7 separate regions of the Homo sapiens genome follow, and regions 2, 3, 4, 5, 6 and 7 are each linked to region 1. Evidence: promoter capture Hi-C in 16 types of primary human blood cells and fetal thymus (Javierre and others, 2016). All regions are on one chromosome and are shown on one strand. The core of a region is centred on a gene start or on the middle of the fragment in contact, and the rest is flanking DNA. Distances in the headings are between cores, read along the strand shown.

The links. The method cuts DNA at HindIII sites, captures the fragments that hold promoters and counts their contacts. A CHiCAGO score of 5 or more calls a contact.
Region 2: the fragment with the promoter of PRR29 here is called in contact with the fragment with the promoter of POLG2 in region 1 in 13 of 17 cell types (monocytes, erythroblasts, M1 macrophages and 10 more); the score reaches 11.3 in monocytes.
Region 3: a contact is called between a fragment that was not itself captured here and the fragment with the promoter of POLG2 in region 1, in 2 of 17 cell types (monocytes and megakaryocytes). The highest score is 6.0, in monocytes.
Region 4: a contact is called between a fragment that was not itself captured here and the fragment with the promoter of POLG2 in region 1, in 1 of 17 cell types (monocytes). The highest score is 5.2, in monocytes.
Region 5: a contact is called between a fragment that was not itself captured here and the fragment with the promoter of POLG2 in region 1, in 1 of 17 cell types (monocytes). The highest score is 9.5, in monocytes.
Region 6: a contact is called between a fragment that was not itself captured here and the fragment with the promoter of POLG2 in region 1, in 1 of 17 cell types (monocytes). The highest score is 6.4, in monocytes.
Region 7: a contact is called between a fragment that was not itself captured here and the fragment with the promoter of POLG2 in region 1, in 1 of 17 cell types (monocytes). The highest score is 6.5, in monocytes.

The regions. Positions count from the first base shown.
Region 1 is chr17:64,495,530-64,498,397 of GRCh38, reverse strand. POLG2 (DNA polymerase gamma 2, accessory subunit) reads left to right here and starts at 1,344. Exons shown (of 8, transcript NM_007215.4): 1 at 1,344-1,991. The coding sequence starts at 1,430. It overlaps DDX5 (DEAD-box helicase 5), which reads left to right. Exons shown (of 13, transcript NM_004396.5): 13 at 1-144. It also overlaps a transcript of MILR1 not described here. RefSeq lists enhancers at 1,067-1,206, 1,587-1,656, 1,308-2,167. The HindIII fragment of the contact is 2,967 bases long and covers 871-2,868 here.
Region 2 is chr17:63,996,942-63,999,809 of GRCh38, reverse strand. PRR29 (proline rich 29) reads right to left here and starts at 1,459. Exons shown (of 6, transcript NM_001164257.2): 1 at 1,386-1,459; 2 at 1,028-1,103; 3 at 736-842. The coding sequence starts at 1,445. PRR29-AS1 (PRR29 antisense RNA 1) reads left to right here. Exons shown (of 3, transcript NR_126169.1): 1 at 1-1,485; 2 at 1,888-2,045; 3 at 2,547-2,868. RefSeq lists an enhancer at 296-1,273 and a silencer at 1,527-1,576. The HindIII fragment of the contact is 13,369 bases long and covers 1-2,868 here.
Region 3 is chr17:64,013,641-64,016,508 of GRCh38, reverse strand. The region is part of intron 1 of ICAM2 (intercellular adhesion molecule 2); the gene reads left to right. Among named protein-coding and RNA genes, the nearest start is that of ICAM2, 5.6 kb to the left of the region's middle. The HindIII fragment of the contact is 3,017 bases long and covers 1-2,865 here.
Region 4 is chr17:64,039,617-64,042,484 of GRCh38, reverse strand. It overlaps ERN1 (endoplasmic reticulum to nucleus signaling 1), which reads left to right. Exons shown (of 22, transcript NM_001433.5): 22 at 1-2,868. Among named protein-coding and RNA genes, the nearest start is that of ICAM2, 20 kb to the right of the region's middle. The HindIII fragment of the contact is 3,607 bases long and covers 1-2,868 here.
Region 5 is chr17:64,064,722-64,067,589 of GRCh38, reverse strand. It overlaps ERN1 (endoplasmic reticulum to nucleus signaling 1), which reads left to right. Exons shown (of 22, transcript NM_001433.5): 8 at 658-919; 9 at 2,303-2,381. Among named protein-coding and RNA genes, the nearest start is that of ICAM2, 46 kb to the right of the region's middle. The HindIII fragment of the contact is 3,663 bases long and covers 1-2,868 here.
Region 6 is chr17:64,081,230-64,084,097 of GRCh38, reverse strand. All of the region lies in intron 2 of ERN1 (endoplasmic reticulum to nucleus signaling 1), which reads left to right. Among named protein-coding and RNA genes, the nearest start is that of ERN1, 47 kb to the left of the region's middle. RefSeq lists an enhancer at 1,621-1,740. The HindIII fragment of the contact is 4,037 bases long and covers 1-2,868 here.
Region 7 is chr17:64,169,751-64,172,618 of GRCh38, reverse strand. TEX2 (testis expressed 2) reads left to right here. Exons shown (of 12, transcript NM_001288732.2): 7 at 1,420-1,519. Among named protein-coding and RNA genes, the nearest start is that of SNORA50C, 25 kb to the right of the region's middle. The HindIII fragment of the contact is 4,971 bases long and covers 1-2,868 here.

The DNA.
Region 1 (2,868 bases), core at 95-2,594:
TTTGTAAACACTGAAATGATTGTTGGGCTGTGGAAAACATTTACCTATTTACCTTGGAAGTTTTAAAAGACAGTCCACTTTTTAGCATGTGTGTTGTGTCCAGCCTGTGGTCGTCTTAACTAATAAATGTGATTTTTCTCCCCATTCTCTCTTTTTATTTATTTGCGTATAGGCCTTTTACCTGGTGTGAGTTCCTGAATGTGGAAAACACCTGGCAGTAGTACCCAGCTTTGCAGTTAATTACTATCTAGCTGGCCTTTTTTTAAACCCTTGTATACACTTGTAAAGAAGAACTATTTCCTGAACCTGGTACAGCACTTTACTAATGATAAAACTTTACTCCTGAATTACATTAACTCAATTGCTAAGCTGTTACCCCTCTTAATCAGGTAGTAGTTTGGTAGTCTCACAGTGAAATGTAGATTGTTCCTTTTTCCCTGAACCTCTTTAAAGGTTTTCGTAACTGAGGCTGGTATAAGAAATCATGGACTTTGGAATCAAACTTCCTCAGTCTGGGTATACCACTTTTCCACTTTCTGGGTAGGTCTTAAGGTCTCGACCTATTTAAATAGAAACTGCAAAATCAGAAACCTGCAATTTAATCATGAGTCTCTTAATAATAACAGTCACAAGTCTCATTGTTTTGATGAACCCATAGAAGGGGCCCCTGGAAGAAATTGCACGTACGTGGTTTTCTCTGACACCAGGAGGGTTTAAGACATGTCAGGGCCCCTTGGTTTATTTCTAGTGCATTCCCAGGTGAGGCAGATGCTGCTGGCTGGGGACTGCCCTTTGGAAGCCACTGCAATATTTAAAGTGACCATACCACTACCCTAGTCACGAAGCCTATCGCCCCCCTCCCCGGAAGCTTAAGCGTCAAGACAACGGCTCTGGGGTTAGGCCTAGGCCACCTGGCGGCAGCATTTGCCTAGTTAAGAAGGCCTGGGCTTACAAATCACCGTAAAGGACTAAAACTGTTTAAAGGGAAACCAAATGCCAAATTTAGTCCAAGTGCTTGATTGAGGTGTATATAGAAGGTGATTTGGATAATACTGAAGTATTTTAATTTTCTGGACTGCAAAACAGTGGCAGAAGGAAGTGACTCAAGTGGCTACACCACGGTTATAAATAGGTGGGAATAACCTTTACTGGTGCTTACGAGGAAAGAAAAAAGTCAATCTGAAGGGAGGGGCGCGACGCGAACGGCAAGCTAGCAGAGAACCATCCGAGCCGGCGTCCGCCATGGTGGGCGGGGGACGGCTGCGGCCGGAACGCAGACATGCGCTTCCGGGGTGGGGCCTGCCGCCCGCAAGCACGCTCACCTCCGTTGCGCCTGCGCCGTGGCCTCTCCGGATTCTGTTAACGGTAGTGGTGGCTTGTTGGGATCCGTTGAGTGATGGGAGAGTGTGCTCTTTAACTTCGGAGAGAGATGCGCTCTCGTGTAGCCGTCAGGGCCTGCCATAAGGTCTGCAGGTGCCTGTTGTCTGGGTTTGGGGGTCGAGTAGATGCGGGGCAGCCGGAGCTGTTGACGGAAAGGAGTAGCCCCAAAGGAGGGCATGTGAAGTCGCACGCGGAGCTCGAGGGGAACGGCGAGCACCCAGAAGCCCCCGGGTCTGGAGAGGGAAGCGAGGCGCTGTTAGAGATCTGTCAGAGAAGGCATTTCCTAAGTGGAAGCAAGCAGCAGCTTAGCCGGGATTCTCTTCTGAGTGGGTGCCACCCCGGCTTCGGACCCTTGGGCGTAGAGTTGCGGAAGAACCTGGCCGCAGAATGGTGGACCTCGGTGGTGGTGTTCAGGGAGCAGGTATTCCCGGTGGACGCCCTCCACCACAAACCAGGCCCTTTGCTACCCGGGGACAGTGCCTTCAGGTTAGTTTCTGCAGAAACTCTACGCGAAATCTTGCAAGACAAAGAGCTGAGTAAGGAACAGCTAGTAGCATTTCTTGAGAACGTATTAAAAACTTCTGGGAAACTACGGGAGAACCTTCTTCACGGTATGCTTCACGATTTCATGCTTCAAAACAGGTGTCGGGTGGAAAGGCGAGGCAGTCTTGCTGGATCTTGGGGATTGCAACTGGCCCTGTATTCCCATGCAAGGAAGTTAGTTAGTTCTCATCTTTTTGAAGTAGTCGGATATATTAACAGTGCTCTACCCTGGAGAAAACTGGTCCATGGAATCATTGCTGTTCCTTAAACAATCTGTCCGAAGGACCTGGGAACGCTCTCAATTTCACGGGGCAACTTCTGAACACAGTGCTGTCATTTAGTGCAATGTAGTCTAAGTGCATAAGGAACTACACAGACATTTTGAACTTTTCTTAGATTTATTCTAAGTAAAAATGTTGAAATTATAATTCTGAAACTATTTCATGTATATCATAGGATAAATCAAGGCCAGGCGCAGTGGCTCACGCCTGTAATCCCAGCATTTTGCAAGGCAGAGGCGGGTGGATCACCTGAGGTCAGGAGTTCGAGACTAGCCTGGCCAACATGGTGAAACCCCGTCTCTACTAAAAAGACAAAAATTAGCCGGCCGTGACGGCGAGCGCCTGTAATCCCAGCTACTTGGGAGGCTGAGGCAGGAGAATCGCTTGAACCCAGGAGGCAGAGGTTGCAGTGAGCCGAGATCACGCCACTGCACTCCAGCTTGGGTGACAAGAGCAAAACTCCGTCTTAAAAAAAAAAAATTCAAATAGTTGGGTTAGTTGTTATTAGGAACCAAGATATTCATTGTAAAAGAAGAGATAATATGTAAAAGAAGGTACGTATAAACTAATGTTAAATATGGATTGGTAAATTAAATATGAATTGGTAAATTAAAATTGAATATGGGTCTCACTCTGTCACCCAGACTCGAGTGCAGTGGTGTGA
Region 2 (2,868 bases), core at 210-2,709, 500 kb after region 1:
CGCACGTGAACACACACTTGCACACACATATGCATGTACACAGCCTTGCACACACACACGCATGCACACAGACACCCACTTGCACACACATACACACACACACTCTTGCACACACACACTGCCGCACACGGTTTCCCCCATTCTGTCTCCTGACTCTGCCCCTGCCAGCCTGGATGGGGGACACACCCTTCGCCTCCTCCAAGGGTCAAAATCCTACCTGGCTTTCAAGGGCTGGTTCTAAGATCCTCTGCTCCTCCAAGGAGCCTGTCCCCATCCCCCAACCCTATGTGCACTTGTGCTTTGTACCTCTCCATGTGCCATCACAGCCAACCTGGCTTTGTATCCCTAACCATTCATTTATTCATTCACTCGTTCAACAAATATCAGCTGAGCCCCTACACGGTGTCAGGCACCAGGCCAGACGCTCATGATGCATGGGGCAGGGTTACCAGGGTGCCTACCTTCCTGGAGCCTTAAGTCCAGTGGGGGAGGCACTACAGGGAAACCTCCTTGAAAACAAGACCTCGGTGGTCTGGACTTTGGGGGGTCTCTTCCCCGCCCCAACCTTTCATGGAGGCTGAAACATGACAGATGCCAAACAGCCCCAGCCAGAGAGACGGGCTGGCTTCCTGCTCCTCTGTCTCCCAGTTCTTTTCCCCCCTGAACAGGAACCCCAGGTGGATCCGCATCCCTGGACCCACAGGTGAGCGACCCCGGCGGCCCACCCACACGCACCTGAGGGCAGGGCGAGGCAGGCCGGGGCTGCAGCGCTCCAGCCACCAGGCGACTCAGCAGCAGCTGGTGCATCTGCGCGTTCTGCAGCATCATCAGTTCCAGCAGGTCTAGGAAGCGGGGTTCAGCAAGCCCACGCCGGGCCTCCGAGTCCCCCTCCCCCTGACACCCCTGTCCCGGGGGTGAAGAATGGGTTGGCGGGTTGTGCTGCGGGGACTCCCAGAGGATGTGCGAGGCAGAAGAGGGTGAGTGGTGGTGATGGTGGGGGTGGGGTGGGGGGACCCGGGAGTCTCACCTTCCTTCACGCGGCCTGGCTGCGGGGGCGCAGGTGGGACGGCCCACGAGAGGGGCTGCAGGAAGGTGACCCAGGGCTGGGGGTGTGCGCGGAGTCAGCCAGGTGGGGTGGGGGGAATGGATGGGGACACGTCGCGAGCCCCAACCCCCCCGGCCAGTGGCCTCCCTAACCCCGCAGGGGCCAGGTTCTCTCCTCCCCGCCCCGCGGCCTCCCTGCTCCCTGCCACGCCTCTTCCTCTCGGTTTGGGGCTGTCTCTCCTCGTCCCCCACCCCTCCAGGATCTGGCCCCTCCAGGGACAGCTCCCCACTCTGCCGTCTCCCAAGCTAAGGCAGGATCTGCTCCCGGGCTCAGCCCTCACCGTCGGGACTGCGCTCTGCGGTGGGGAGCGACCCCAGCTTCCGCCCGCCCCAGAGGCCATGGCTGGCGCCGGTTGCCTTGGCGACGCCGAGGACGCCAAGGTCTCTTCCCACGCATGCGCGGAGCCCGCCCGTGCTCCTGGGTCTTCCATCTCCCTGCTCCCTCCTGTCTCCTCCTCCGCGGACTTGGGGTCCCCAGGAGCCCTCCCCCGCCACCAGGAGGCCAGTCTCCTCCCCGGCATGTCCACCTCCCGCCGCGCTGCTCGGGGCTCCCCTCCCCTCCCCTTGCTGGTTCCCAGAACTGGGCCTGGGTTAGTGCGGGGAAGGGGGGTGTGTTTGTTGAGTGAATAAGCGAGTGACTGGGGAGGCTTGGTTTCGGGGTCCCAGAGCCCGATTGACTCAGCTGAAAAGTTCAGGAGAAACAGAGACTTTTGCAGGAGCAGGCTGGGGGCTAGGGCAGACGAGTGAGGAGGACAAAGGGTCTGTTCCCTGTCACTCTGACAGAGAGAGGGGCTTCCTGCCAGGAAAGAGTGGTTTCTGGAGCAGACCAAGGAAGGAAACACCGCCCGAATTCACGGAAGAGGCTGAGGACTCTGGCTGGAAACACGTGGCCGGCTTCTCGCCTCTCTCCTTGCGGCTATTTGCCCTGTTTCCTGGCCAAGGTGAGCCACTGCTCCTCAGACGAGGAAAATCGTGGTGACTTCAGCACCCGCGTCCCCAGTACTGTCTCCCGTACTGGAAAAGTTACCAAAGCACGCGTTCTTTTGACAGGAAGTTAGCAAGGTCTTCCTTGCTTAAGAACAGGTGAAGGGGGAGATCTATTTCTGCAGCTGTGACCATCCTAAGATAGGCCCCCGGCAGCAGTCAAGGAAAATCCAGACAGGAAGCTGGGCTTAGCACCCCGAGTAGCCCTTCCCCCACTCTCCATGTCAGCTCCCCTTCCTGCCAGTCCTGGAGTAAGAACCAGAAAGACCATTCCCACCTCCTCCTTTGCTCCGTAGTACCTGTCTCTAGGGGAGCAGGCTTGTGGGCATTACTTTACTGTCCCCATGGGTCTTATGGCTTCAACAGCCATTAACAAGCTGAGATCCAGGCACTGGGGTCACAGCCCCCCAGTGAGTAGAACACAGAGATGCCTCTCTCCATCTCCATTCTCATTCCAGGTAGAAAGAGAACAAGCCATTTTGCTCATCATCAACAAACCTTGACCAAGGAAGTGTCTGCGTGTGCAATGTGCCATCTGAACCCTGGAGGCATAAGCAGTATGGTCACTTGTCCCAGCATTGTTGGGAAGTGAAAATGTATCCATGGAAAGAGAGCAGAAAGATAAGACTACGCCCCGGGGATAATGAAAAAGAGAGGACTTGACCGCTGAGGGATGGAGTTCCAAGGAAGTCAGTCCTTGATGGGGCCAAGCAGCAGGGGAAGACGGGCGCTATCAGGCTGGGGACAGAGCCCAAGCCAAGACCCAGGTGTATGAATGGA
Region 3 (2,868 bases), core at 108-2,607, 480 kb after region 1:
TCACTAGCTGGCAAGTAAATTGTTCCTAAAGCATTGAAGAAGACCCTGAGACGAAAAGCAAAAAGAAGCATAGTATAAGTTTGGGGGTAGGTGGAGGGGCACTGGCAGCTTAAAAGGGAGTCTAGGCTTGCACAAAATCATCCACTGTAGGGACAGCTGAAATCAGCAGAGGGCAGAAGTGATATGACACAGAGCACCAAAGTCTACTATTACCAACATAATAAATAATGTTTATAGACATTTCTTCGTTGTTAAACCATCCTTGCAAACCTGAGATAAACCCAACTAGAATGTGATGCCTTTTGGTTTTTACACTGCCGGATTTGATTTACCAGTATTTTTCTTATAACTGTTGCATTTATAGTCATGAGTGAAACTGGCCTCTAATATTGCTTTCTCTTCCTGTACTTGTCTTGTTTAGATATTAAGGTTACACTGGCCTCATGGAAAGAGTTAATGTTTTCATTTTTTCCATTCTCAGAGAGAGTTTTTATAAAATTAGAATTACTAACCAGGCACAGTGCTGTATGCCTATAGTCCCAGTTACTCAAGAGACTAAGGCAGGAAGATCTCTTGAGCCCAAGAGTTTGAGACTAGCCTGGGCAATACAGCAAAACTCCATTTCTAAAAAAAATAATAATAATAATTTTTTTTAAAGAGTTACCCTTACTTGAACTTCTGCAAAACCATCTAGACCTGGTATTTTCTTCATGGGAAGATCTTTAAATTACGGATTCAAGTTTTTTTGTTTTCTTTTATTTTTTTCTTGGAGACATGGTCTCACTTTGTTACCTAGGCTAGAGTACAGTGGCGTAATCTCGGTTTACTGCAGCCTCAACCTCCCAGGCTCAAGCCATCCCCCTAACTCCACCTCCCAAGTAGTTGTGACTACAGGCGTGCACCACCACGCCTGGCTAGTTTTTGTATTTTTTGTAGAGATGGGGTTTTGTCATGTTGCCCATGCTGGTCTCAAACTCTTGGGCTTAAGGGATCTTCCCACCTCAGCCTTCCAAAGTGCTGGGATTAGCCGTAAGCACTTTCTTGGAATTACCTGTGAGCCACTATGCCCGGCCCTGATTCAATTTCTTTAATAGTTATAGAACCATTTAGGCTTTTTATTTCTTCTTAAATAAGTTTGGTAAGTTATATTTGTCTAAGACTTGATCTACTTCAATTCCTATGTTGTAGCATAACTTTTTTATAGTCTTCTTTATTTTTCATTGTGGTAAAATACACATAACATAAAATGTACCAAATTAACCATTTTTAAGTGTACACTTCAGCAATTAATGCTAAGTATGTTCTCATTGTTTTGCAACCCATCTCCAGAAATTTTTCCATCTTGCAAAACCAGAACTAAATCCATTTAAAGGACTCTCATTTCCCCTCTCCCACAGCCCCTGGCAACTACTGTTTCACTTTCTGTTTCTATAAATTTGTATAGTTTTCTTTCTTCTCATGTTTACGTTTCCATTTACATTCCTAATCATGTTTACGCATGCCTTCTTTTTCTTTATATATCGATTTCACTGGAGACTTGCCTATCCTATTGAGTTTTGTAGGGAAGGGTTTTTTTGTAATATTTTTTATTTTAATAGAGAGATAATATCGCACTATGTTGCCCAGGCTGGTCTCAAACCCCTGAGCTCAGGTGATCCTTCCGCCTTGGCCTCCCAAAGTGCTAGGATTATAGGCATGAGTCACCATGCCTGGCCATCAGACTTATTTTCCTTCTTTCTTTTTCTTTCTTTCTTTCTTTCTTTCTTTCTTTCTTTCTTTCTTTCTTCCTTCCTTCCTTCCTTCCTTCCTTCCTTCCTTCCTTCCTTCCTTTCTTTCTTTCTCTCTTTCTTCCTTTCTTTCTCTCTCTCTCTTTCTTTCTTTCTCTCTCTCTCCCTCCCTCCCTCCCTTTCTTTCTTTCTTCCTTCCTTCCTTCCTTTCTCTCTCTCTTTCTTTCTTCCTTCCTTCCTTTCTCTCTCTCTTTCTTTCTTTCTCTCTCTCTCCCTTCCTTCCTTCCTTTCTTTCTTTCTTCCTTCCTTCCTTCCCCTCTCTCTCTCCTTCTCTCTCTCTCTCTTCCTTCCTTCCTTCCTTTCTTTCTCTTTCTCTTCCTTCCTTCCTTCCTTCCTTCCTTCCTTTCTTTCTTTCTTTCTTTCTTTCTTTCTTTCTTTCTTTCTTTCTTTCCTTCCTTCCTTCCTTCCTTCTTTCAGATGTGATCTTACCATGTTGCCCAGGCCTGTCTCAAATTCCTGGGCAGGGGCAATCCTCCTGCCTTGGCCTCCCAAAGTGCTGGAATTACAGGCATGAGCCACTGCATCTGGCCCAGAGTTCTTTTCTAATACAAGCATTCTAGGCTATAGATTTCCCTCCAAGCACAACTTTTGCGCCTCGCAGAAATTTTAACATGATATTTTCATTATCATTCAATTTTAGGAATTTATAAATGTGTCATTATGATTTCTTCTTTGACCAATGCATTAGATTATGTTTTTAAACTGTCAAATATATAAGCGTTTTAAAACTCATCTTCTTGAAGAATTTGTATTCTCTACTTTATAGATGCAGTTCAAGCATTTACACCACTGATTTTTTTTTCTGTCCGCATCATTACTCATAAGTAAGAGACATATGTTAAAATTTCCTGTTGTGATGGTGGTTTTACCTCTTTATAGTTCTATATGGGAGTATATAGAACTATAAAGAGTATATATAGAAGTATATAGTTCTATATAGAAACTTCTATATAGAAGTTTAGAACTATTGTAACTTCCTGGTGAATTGACCCTTTATTCTAGGTACTCACTCTATCCCTAATAAATGTTTTTGTCTTTAAATTCATTTTTGTCTGATATAAATATAGCTTTCCAAGCTTTC
Region 4 (2,868 bases), core at 163-2,662, 460 kb after region 1:
TGTTGAATTTTACTCACAGAGAAATCACTGTTTCTTCATGTTGTAAGATGTTTTCTGTTTGTGTATTTGTATCATGGTTACTCATCAAAAGCTCTCATTCTGCCTTTGTAGAATTCAGTTCCCTTCCTTTCATCATAGCTAAAGTGACTTTTTTCCCTACTATTAACGTGATCCTACATCCTTAAATCTCATCGATTACCTCACTTAGGCCTTGGAACCTTGGCCCTTGGTCGGTGTCCTTGGCGTCTTCTAAGCAAGGCTGTGCGTTGTTCAGAAACGTGGCCAGACCGCATTTCCTGCTGCTCCCATGCCGCATGCCAGGTGGCCTGAGACAGAGCTCCCCATACGGCTGCAAGGTGCTTTACCTGTGGGCTTTGGCAGTAACCCAAGAGAGGATCAGAAGGTGGAGAAGGTGCCACGAGTGATTTAACAGGCCTGCCACAGGGAGTGCCCCCAGCCCAGCTCGTTCTCAGCACAGGTTTTCTCTTTGGGAGTACCCAGGTGATTTCTAGTGACCCAATTTTGTGTCATCTCCCTGTTTTAGCCCCACTTGCCTAGAGACAACTGTTTCCGATGCCTTTTCTGCTTATCATACTAGTTTCTAACCACGCAGATTTCTCAAAATCATTTATTCAATGTATTTTATTTGAGCACTTAGTGTATTGAGCTAGGCAGGATATAGGGTGCCGGAGATACAGCGATGAACAAGACAGGCAAAACTTCTGCTTTCCTAAAACTTGTGATGAGAGAGAACAATAAAAAAGTGTTGCTGCCACAAAGAAACCAAAGTGTGTGGGGAAGGGCGCGTGTTTGCGGTTTACATCTCTTCTGTCCCAGAATCACAGGGATCTGGTCCGGTCACCTCTGGTCTTTCCTCTTAGTCGCCTTTAGGAGCCCTGGTTCCCGTCCATCCTCTGGGGGGTTTGTTTGAAGAGATCTCGTGTGGGTACTTGTCATGAAAACACCTTGGGCATCATCTGGTGTATCCAGTTCTAGTCTCGAGAATTCTGGTTTCCCACTGTGCTCAGCAAGTGGAAAGTTCTTTTCAGGCCAGAACAGCTCTGCACCATCACATATCGTGTTGCGGCTTAGCTGTTTGGTCTGTAGTTCAGGTTATGGGACTTCTCCAATCCTGGAAGGCTGTTGAGCTTTTTAGAAGTACTGTACGCTATCTTCAAGATGGAGCTTGGTCACATCTGTTAGGAATCCAAAGGACACTATGACTTATTTAAATCTTGTCTTACTAAACCTCTCTTGGGCACGTGTGCCAGAATTTCTCTTGTTGCTTCTTGAGTCTTTTTAATTTCAGTGTTTTTTCGTTTGTTTTTTGTTTTTTTGAGACAGAGTCTCGCTCTGTCACCCAGGCTGGAGTGCAGTGGCACGACCTCAGCTCACTGCAACCTCCGCCTCCTTGGTTCAAGCAATTCTCCTGCCTCAGCCTCCCGAGTAGCTGGGATTACAGGTGTGTGCCACCACGCTCGGCTAATTTTTTATATTTTTTTTAGTAGAGACGGGGTTTCCCCATGTTAGGCAGGATGGTCTCGATCTCCTAACCTCGTGATCCGCCTGCCTCAGCCTCCCAAAGTGCTGGGATTACAGGCTTGAGCCACCGCACCCGGCCTAATCTCAGTTTTTGAAGTGCTCCACAAGTCATTAGGCACCAAAACATTTTCACCTGGGGAACACTGGCATTTCCCTGATTAGCTGTGAAGCAATCTAGTGGCTAAGTGTGAAATCCTGGGTGCGCAGGTGTTCTCACTCCCGCCGTGTTCTCAGTGCAGTGGTGGTCAGAGGCCCTTCCAAGGAGACATCACTCTGATCAGTTACAGATAGATGTTCTGGAAGATCTGCAGGTGAGTAGATCCAGCAGAGTTTCTTCCCACCAACTCTAGAAGAAAGGGCCTTATCAGAGTTGACCCTGAGCCTTTGGTAAGGTTTTGTGTGCATGCGATTCAGTTATCTTTGGCAATTCTTTTCTTGCTGCAGTGAGAGATTAATTGGTTGCTGATCAAACCGTTCATGCAGATGGGGGGACCTTTGGATTGTACGGCTTTCTCCTCTTGGCTGCTTTCTTTTCAGGAAGTTGGACTTTGGCCAGGTTTGGCTTTCCCAGAGCCGTTCCTTTCTCTGTCCTTTCCTTGGGTCCTCATGGTGTGCCCATTGGATCCTTGGCCTTGTGATCCTCTGGGAACTGGGGGCCAGTTCCACTTTTGCAGCCTTCTGTGCTGGAAGAGAAGCCCAGCGCCCTGGAAGGAGCCTCTTTAAGTCCCCCATGTCGCTTTCTCTCTCTGCTCTTTTAGTGTCTGAGATTGCCTTTCTTTGAATTTCCCAGTGTTTCTTTTCCTTGTCCCTTCCCTCACCAACCTGGAGTTATTTTGGTTGACTATGTCCTGGCTTTGGCTTCTCCTGGCAGGAAGTCATCAGGCATCCTCTCCAGGTGAGCCGAAATTCCACCCTCCCAGGTTGGACATCATCTTTTAAACCCAATGGTCTACTCCCCTCCTTCTTTATGAAACAGTGATTTCCCGTGAGTAACTCTGGTTCTGATTTTTTGTACCGGCGCTTAAATTCTTTCTGTAGACGTTGGAAAGCCACAAAGAACGTGACTGCAGTGAGCCTCCCACTGGAGCAGCCTTAACCAACACTTTGGCCAAAGCCCCCCCACCTCCCCTGTGTACTGTGTGTGTGTTTGGTGGATACAGTATTCCTTTTCAGTGTCCCTAAAGCTGTGATGGGGAGTCCCCACTTACCTAGAAAGCATTACCAGTCACCTACTCTGCATTCTCAGATGTAAACCTTGTGTAGTGTTCTTTTTGCAATGACCTATTTATTTAACCTATTTATATTTATTTAATTTTTACTCTGAAA
Region 5 (2,868 bases), core at 204-2,703, 430 kb after region 1:
TGTTCCCCAGGATGTGTGCAGGAGTGCAGTCAGGGCTCACTGCAGCCTGAAACTCCTAGGCTCAAGCGATCTTCCCACCTCAGCCTACTGAGTAGCTGGGACCACAGGCACGTACCGCCACTCCCCCACCTACCTGGCTAATTTTTTTTTTTTTTTTTTTTTGTAGAGACGGGGGTCTCACTATGTTGCCCAGGCTGGTCTTGAAGTCCTGGACTCAAGTGATCTTCCTACCTCAGCCTCCCAAATTCTTGGGCTTATAGACATGAGCCACCACAGCTGTCCCTGACTTTCAGTTTGATCGATGGGTTTCAAGTGACTGCTATGAAATGCCAGATTAATAGGCATCTCCACTGGCTCCTTCCTCCTCAGTATTTACTCTCACTTATTGAATAGAGTGTTAAAGAACATCACCAAATAAATTGCCTTTGGGAGAGTGATCCTGGCTTGTGTTTATACGCCAGCCAGCTCTCAGTGTCTTGATATTACAGAGACTAAGCGAGTTCATTGGAAACAAGTGAAATTGCTCAGAGGAGATCTGAGAATATTCCAGAAGTCTTGTTTCCTCTAACTGAGTGACTAGAGCCTGCCACAAGAGTAGAGGATGTGGTTGCAAGATGGGGTGAGACTCAGCATGCTTTGTTTATTTGATCTGTACAGAGATGTCCCACTTTGTGTCCAATGGTGATGGGCTGGTGGTGACTGTGGACAGTGAATCTGGGGACGTCCTGTGGATCCAAAACTACGCCTCCCCTGTGGTGGCCTTTTATGTCTGGCAGCGGGAGGGTCTGAGGAAGGTGATGCACATCAATGTCGCTGTGGAGACCCTGCGCTATCTGACCTTCATGTCTGGGGAGGTGGGGCGCATCACAAAGTGGAAGTACCCGTTCCCCAAGGAGACAGAGGCCAAGAGCAAGCTGACGTGAGTTGGGAGCTCGGGGAAGGAGAGGGCGGCCGTGGCCTTCGTGTTCTGGTGCTGTTGCAGTGTAGCAGGCCCTGCACGGGAGGCCAAAGACAGGGCAGTCTCTGAAGCCATGAGGAATATTCAGAGCCAAGACTGTTTCATTTGGAAACCTCAGAATACAAGAGCTGAGGGGCACCCATTAACACTTCAGAGTTATTAAATATTACATAAAAATCATGGATGGGAGGTGTCGGGCACCATGGCATACACCTGTAATTCCAGCTACTTGAGAGGCTGAGGTGGGAGGATTGTTTGAGCACAGGAGTTTGAGGCCAACCTGGGCAACATGGCAAGACCCTCCCCCTGCCACCACACACACACAAATAAAGGTATAGGAAAGAGACTGCCAGTGTAAGTATAGTTTGGATCTATCTTAGGTGGTAGGGATGCAAGAGATTTATTTTTTTAACTTTCTATATTTTCTAAGTTTTTAGGTTATATTCATTTTAAAAATCAGAAAAAATAGTTACAGTGTGTGTGTGTGTCCAAGACTCAGCAGGCTTCTGTTCTCCATCCCCCTCTTCATAGCCTATCACCGAGTCACTTAAACTCCCCAAGCCTCAGTTTCCTACTTTATATATAGAGTTGTGTGGAAGATCAAACAAGATAATATGCCGGCAAGTGTTTAGATTGTAAAACAGCATTCAAATGTAAGGTATTCGTTGAGAGAGGTTTAGATAATGTAGTGGATGACCGATCCCAGGTGGGCTCTTGACAGTAAGCAGAAGGGCCAGGAGGTGTAGCTCTCACCATTTTCTGTCTCCCTGATGTCCCACATGGGGACAGACTACACAGCTGGGGAACCAGAAGTCTCACCAAGTCTGGAATTTCTTATGCATCCCTTTTGCTCTCAGCATCCAGAGTAGAGCAGCTGACCATTTCTCAGGAGTTCTGTAAAACCTCCAGGATCCTTAGAAAGCACAAGGCAGAATGGGGGTAGTTCTGGTGGTCGCTGGAGTGATCGCTGGAGTGAAAGTGTGTTGTAGAGAGTCATCTGAGGGGCCTCGGCGGTGGTAGTAAGCACTCAGTCTCCTCTGTGGCCACTGGGCGTAGTCCTTTCTGCAGGCATCATGGGCATCGTCTAGTCCAGCCCTGCGATTTTGCTGAGGCTTGCCATTAGGTGGCTTGTCCATGTTTCTGCAGTGAGTGACAGCTGGGATGAAGTCCTGTGGTCCTGTTCCCAGGGCAGTGCCCCTAGCTTCACACCCCTACTGCGTTCCTCCATGTCTGGGGGGTTAATGTGGTCATCCCTGCGGGTGGTATTTGGGGTGATGATTACTCCCTTCTGTGGGATCTGGAAATTCAATGACTCTGGAATGCATGTATCTGTTTTTCTCCTAGGCCCACTCTGTATGTTGGGAAATACTCTACCAGCCTCTATGCCTCTCCCTCAATGGTACACGAGGGGGTTGCTGTCGTGGTAAGTCCACTACGGAGGGCTCGCAGCTGCCTAACCACTTCTGTTCCATTTTAGCAAAGAATGACTTTGCTATGCATGAGCATCCTGCAGGTTAAGAATGAAAAACACAAATCTTAAGTTCTCAAAAACAGTTTCTGCACATGCCACATTCTACTTTGAAAGAAAGATACATGACAAAAACAGCTTCTTAAAGCCGAGGAATCCCTGATTATTCCCTTTTGCTTTTGTGATCAAATCTAAACTCCCCAGGCTGGTGTTCATGGCCCTGCTTCATCCAGTCCCACGATGCCCTTCCTCCACCCTGTTAGTTTCTCTATGTGAGTTGCGTGGCCCAACCATGTGCACCTTCTCCCTGACTTCTACAAGCCCCATGTTCATCTTTCCCCGGGGCCTTTGTTCAGGCTGCTCCTCACCTCACACTTCAAATGCCCTTTCTTCTTCCTTTTCCCTACTCAAACCCTTTGCATGCTTTTGCAATCTCGCCGAG
Region 6 (2,868 bases), core at 211-2,710, 410 kb after region 1:
AGAAAGGACCCGGGAGAGGGGAGCCTAGAACCCCACTGTGGTTAGGGTGGAAGTTATAGAGAGGCATGTGCTCTCTGAGTGAGAAGAAAGGCTGAAGGGAGAAGCTGGCAATGTTCCTCCCTGTGTGGAGGAGGGAGTGGGGACAAAAATTCACTGCTTTTGGGGACAGAAATGTTTAAAACTTTACCCTTATGAACTTGGACAAAGGAAAGATGTGGACGTCTGTTTTGTTATTTGAGCTTAAAGAAGTGATTTAGATTAGCCTAGCAATGAGCATCTTGTGACCTCACCCAGGATGTCAGTTCCTGCAGGTGTAAAACTTGTGCCATTCCAGGCCTCAGCTGGACACACGATGGGGGCCGGGGAGTGGAGTTGAGGCCAGTGGCTGCTCCCAGGGGATCAGTGAGCAGGTTTGTTTCTTTCCCGTGTTAATCCTGGGAGACCAAACCTTGATTTCAGCTATATTTTCCCTCTACCTTTACCAGATAACCTTACCTTTACCTTACATAACAGCCACTTTTTATATTTGTGAAGTAACTCCCCCACAACTTTTTTTTTCTGAAAGTAAAACAACTTGGTGACATTGGCTTTTATTCTTATCGGGCCCCATATAGATAGTGGCTTATTTTACAGCAGTATTTGTTTACATCCCTACAGGTAGGACAGTGTTTCTTTTCACATGGCTGAAAACTTTTTTTTTTAAAGCAAGAATCTTACCTGATATCAGTTCTCATTATTAAATCAAAACCACTTTTTCATGTTACTCTTTTAGTGCACATTTTCAGATAATGCTCTTTTTATTTTTGCTGACTTTCCAAAGATAATTTTCTCTTTAACCTTTTTTAATATGAAAAAATTTAACCATATGTACAGAGAGTAGTAAAATAACACTCCAGTGTTCCCGTGTCTCATCTTTAACTGTTATCAACAGCCTGCCACTTCTTGTTTTATCTGTCCTCCCCGCCCCCCGTATAATTATTTTCTGTAGTATTTTAAAGCAAATCTTGAATTCAGATGATTCTTAAAGAAAAACATTTACAGAATTAGGTCATTGTTACATTTCAGAAGCCAAGCAGCAGTGTGTCTGCCTCTGTCAGAACTGTCTTAATAATTGTGTCTTTACCTGGGCTGCAGCTTTGAAGAGGCTTATTCCAGGTGCTTATTTTACTGAGTGGATGGGAAATGCTAAGATAACCATAAGGCCCTCCTACTGGAGTTTATCTTCTCCTAAGCCTAGAAAAAAAAAATCACAGTTCTTAAACACCAATGTAGTTGTCCCGGGAATCTTCCCCTGTCTCCTGCCAATGTCCTGAATCTTAACTGGAACCTTCCTGATACAGGGCATATCTTGGGACCTGAGGCCTCAGTGTCAGGTGACCAGTGGATAAGCTATAGAAAACCAGGAAAATCTGCATCTGAAGACGAGTCTGTGTGACTGAGCAAACACTGTACAGCAAAGATCAGGTTATGAACAGGAATTTAAATCATGTTGGTCTGCATGTCTTGTTTCTGGTGAATTCCTGGAATTTGGCCATGTCCTCTTAATCTGTGTTTATCTGTGATACCTTTAAGTGGCTGAAACAAACAAAAAAGATGCCATTTTACTGCTGTGTTTTCTTCGGAATATGATATTCTTGCTCTTCTTGGCTTGCATGCCTTCAGGCCGGTGTTAAAATAACTGGGTTATTGCACCTTGACTAGCTTGTTTCAGTAGGATGAGTGTGGTGTGCCTTTATTTCCTGTCTCTTGCATCAGTCTGTTTGTGAGAGTGTACCGAGAGGTGATTAATGGGAAAGATAAACATGTGCTTACTGACTGAAAGTTCTTCCTGTTTCCTAGAGTGTTTTTGGTTTAGTGAGTTGTTTGTTTGCTGCCCACAGACCGCATATGGTGTGTGTACACCTCTGTTGTTGTGAACACCATATGCCTTTGTATAGGAGCTGGGCTTTTAAGCAAAGTCAACATATGATAAGGCTTAAAAGATTTTCCTTCATCCAATAATTGGATGGATTGGACAGCCGTCTGTCACCATAAGCAGAGCCTACAGAGTCTGGAATTCTGCATACAAAATCATGTAAGAATACTTGCTGTTCTTGCCCCCCAGAGATTAAGTTGTGTATAGCATGGCTGTGGGGTTTTGGTTGCTGGAAATACCTCATCGCTGTGAGTCTCCTGCCTGCGGACTTTTGGATCTGTCACTACACAGTGCTGCTGTGCCAGTGTTCATGCTCTCTCACTGCCACCACCATCTGCCCCTGGAATCAGGAGCTTCCTCTTGCTTTGTGCCCAGGAAAATCTAGGGAGGGAAGAATTCTGCCATTAATTGCTGCAAATGTAAAATTGACTTAGAGAAAAAAACGTGTTCTCAATTTAAAAAGTAATGCCTGCTCTTGCAGAAATTTTAAGATATAGAAAAGGTTGGGGGGAGTTGCATTTCCAACAAGGATAACTTACAATTAGCATTTTTGATCTTTCCATCTAATTAGGTACATTGAAGCCTTTCCCCATAGTTGCATTAATACTCTATGTACAATGTTATCTTTTCTCCTGAACATAATAGCATAGGTTTGTATATGTCTTAAAATTTTATTAGCCCTCTTAGAAGCCTTAATTTTTTGCCAAGTGGACATTCTATAACTTAACCATATTATTGGGTAGGTCATTTGTAATGCTGCTACGTACACATCTTTGTACAAAAACCATTTTCTATAGTTTATATTGTCTTTAAATTAGATTTTATAAAAATGCAATGGGGGGGCCAAAGGGAATGAACACTTGGAGGCTCTAGAATTGCCGCTCCAAAGAGGTGTGTCCATTTACTGGCCAATCAAAGTTAGTTCTTAAACCCATTTTACTTTTCCTAATGGG
Region 7 (2,868 bases), core at 369-2,868, 330 kb after region 1:
TGGAGAGGCTTCCTGTGTTACAGGAGCTGTGGCCTTCAGTAGATGGGGGGGACAAATGCCCAACACTCTTCTCCGTGTGCCTCCCCATCAACTGCCCATTGGTGTATCCCATTGGCCATGCCCAACCAGAAGCTGGAGGGTAAAAGAGACCGTTGGCACAGTTCACGCAGACCAACCACTGGGGATAGAGTGTAGATCTGGCAGGGCAAACAGAAAATGTTCAGCATGAGATCAAAGGATGTGCTATTTTTCTTTTTTTTTTTTTTGAGACGGATTCTCGCTCTGTCACCCAGGCTGGAGTGCAGTGGTGCGATCTTGGCTTGCTGCAACCTCCACCTCTCAGGTTCAAGCAATTCTCCTGCCTCAGCCTCCTGAGTAGCTGGGACTACAGGCACGTGCCACCACACCCGGCTAATTTTTTGTATATTTAGTAGAGACGGGTTTCACCGTGTTAGCCAGGATGGTCTCAATCTCTTGACCTCGTGATCCGCCCACCTCGGCCTCCCAAAGTGCTGGGATTACAGGCGTGAGCCACTGCGCCTGGCCAGCATGTGCTGTTTTTCAAGGATTTTCATACACATGTAAGTTTGCCTATCGGAAATGTAGCAATTTCTCTTCTTTTCTTTTTTTTTTTTTTTTGACGCAGAGTCTCGCTCTGTCCTCCAGGCTGGGGTGCAGTGGCACATTCTCAGCTCACCGCAACCTCTGCCCCCAGGTTCAAGTGATCCTCCCACCTCAGCCTCTCCGAGTAGCTGGGACTACAAGTGCATGCCACCTTGCCTGGTGGATTTTTGTATTTTTTGGTAGAGTTGGGGTTTCACCATGTTGGCCAGGCTGGTCTCGAACTCCTGACCTCAAGTGATCCATCCACCTTGGCCTCCCAAAGTGTTGGGATTACAGACATGAGCCACCGCACCTGACCTTGTTGTAGCAGTTTCTTACTACCCACTGAGAGTCTGAGAGAGGTCTGTTTTCCCATACTTCAGCAAATGTGGGGTACTGTTAACCAGCATGGCTGGCTCCTTCTCCATAGGTGGCCTCTGCTCAAATGCCACTCCTCAGGGAAGCCATCCCTGACCTCCTCAGCCAAAACAGCCACCCCCGTGTTCCCTCTGCCCATTACCTGCTTGATGTTCTTTGCAGCACTAATCACTCTCTGGAAGTATATTGTCTATGTATTTACCTGTTTCTGCCTTTCTATTATAAACCCCGTGAGAGCCAGGCCCTGGCCTGACCTCTTCATGGCTCTGTCTGGAGTACGAAGCCTAGTACATGATGTGTGCACATTACGTTTTCGTTACATAAATGATATGTCCCCAAAACCTTGGCCACCATCCTCTCCGGAAGCATGTTGACTTGCAACAGCATGTTTTGTAGGTTGCTCATGGGTCTCACTCATTGTTTGCTTGTTTCCTCTAGCTCCCCTACTTTATGAATGAGCTCACTCTGACGGAACTTGACATGGGCGTGGCTGTGCCAAAAATCCTCCAGGCCTTCAAGCCTTACGTTGATCACCAAGGTAACTCCTAACTGACCATTCTATGAGTGTTAAAATATATCCTTTGCTGCAGATTCAGTACCATGATGGCTTTGTGTTTGGAGGGTGTTGAGGACTTTTTAAATCATCTGTTTCATGTTGAGTGTCTTTCTGTTCTTACCAGTCATGGCCTTAAAACTGATTTGGGGCCGGGCATGGTGGCTTACGCCTGTAATCCCAGCATTTTGGGAGGCCAAGGCAGGCGGATCACCTGAGGTCAGGAATTCGAGGCCAGCCTGGCCAACATGGCAAAACACCGTCTCTACTAAAAAAGTACAAAAATTAGTCGGGCGTGGTGGCGGGTGCCTGTAATCCCAGCTACTCAGGAGGCTGAGGCAGGAGAATCGCTTGAACCCAGGAGACGGAGGTTGCAGTGAGCCAAGATCGTGCCACTGGACTCCAGCCTGGATGACAAGAGCGAGACTCTGTCTCACAAAAAAAAAAAAAAAAAAAAAAAAAGATTTGGAATAGATCCAAGCTCCCATCCTAAGTCTTTTAGTCTCTTGGTTATTATAGGGCCTCCTCCAGCCCAGTGATGCACACATGCCAGCTGATGGGGCCTGTGCTTTTGTAGGGGTTGCAGCCCTTGCCAGGGCATGAGGCAGTGGCTGGATTTCAGTTCCGCTCACCTCTCATGGCCCTCACGGGTGCAGCTGCCCCAGCCCTAGCCGCTTGCCAGGAGCTGCCTCTCCTCACATGTGTTCACATCCTTACCTCTCCTGACTTGTAGGTTCCAGATTTTTTGACTTTCATGTCTTCTGTCTTTATGTTCCTTGCTACTCCTAGTAGGTGCTCAGTACATGTTTGAGAAATGAAGACGTACAGTATATTCAAAGGCAATATTTTGAGAGTAGGGCTCCTTGCTGGAGGAAAGTTCTCAGATTTGAGTTTTTAAACATGTTACTAAGACATTATTTATGTCTGCTTTTGTGGGTGGGGGGTTAAAGAGTTGATCAGATTGTAGAGAGTTTGTGTAACATGATGATGATGATGATGTAAGGATTTGTATCTCTTATGTCACATAAACCATAAATACGGTTTTAAAAGGATCTTGACAGGGAAAATTTAGTACACAGGAGTTTGGTAAAAAAAGAGGAATGAGCCAGGTAGGCCAGAATAGCCCATTAGCATGCAGAGAGAATTCTCACTGACGTTTTTACTGTAGCCTCCCTTGGCAAGTGAGCCTCTTTCCACTTCAACCATATTTACATTTTTCCTAAAATGGCTTAGGAACAAGGTAGGAGAAAAACTAATTATAGCTTTTCAAGAGAGTGATAGTTGTTTTAAAGTAAATGTTTTATAAAATTTGTAGAGCATGGAAGCTACTTTTC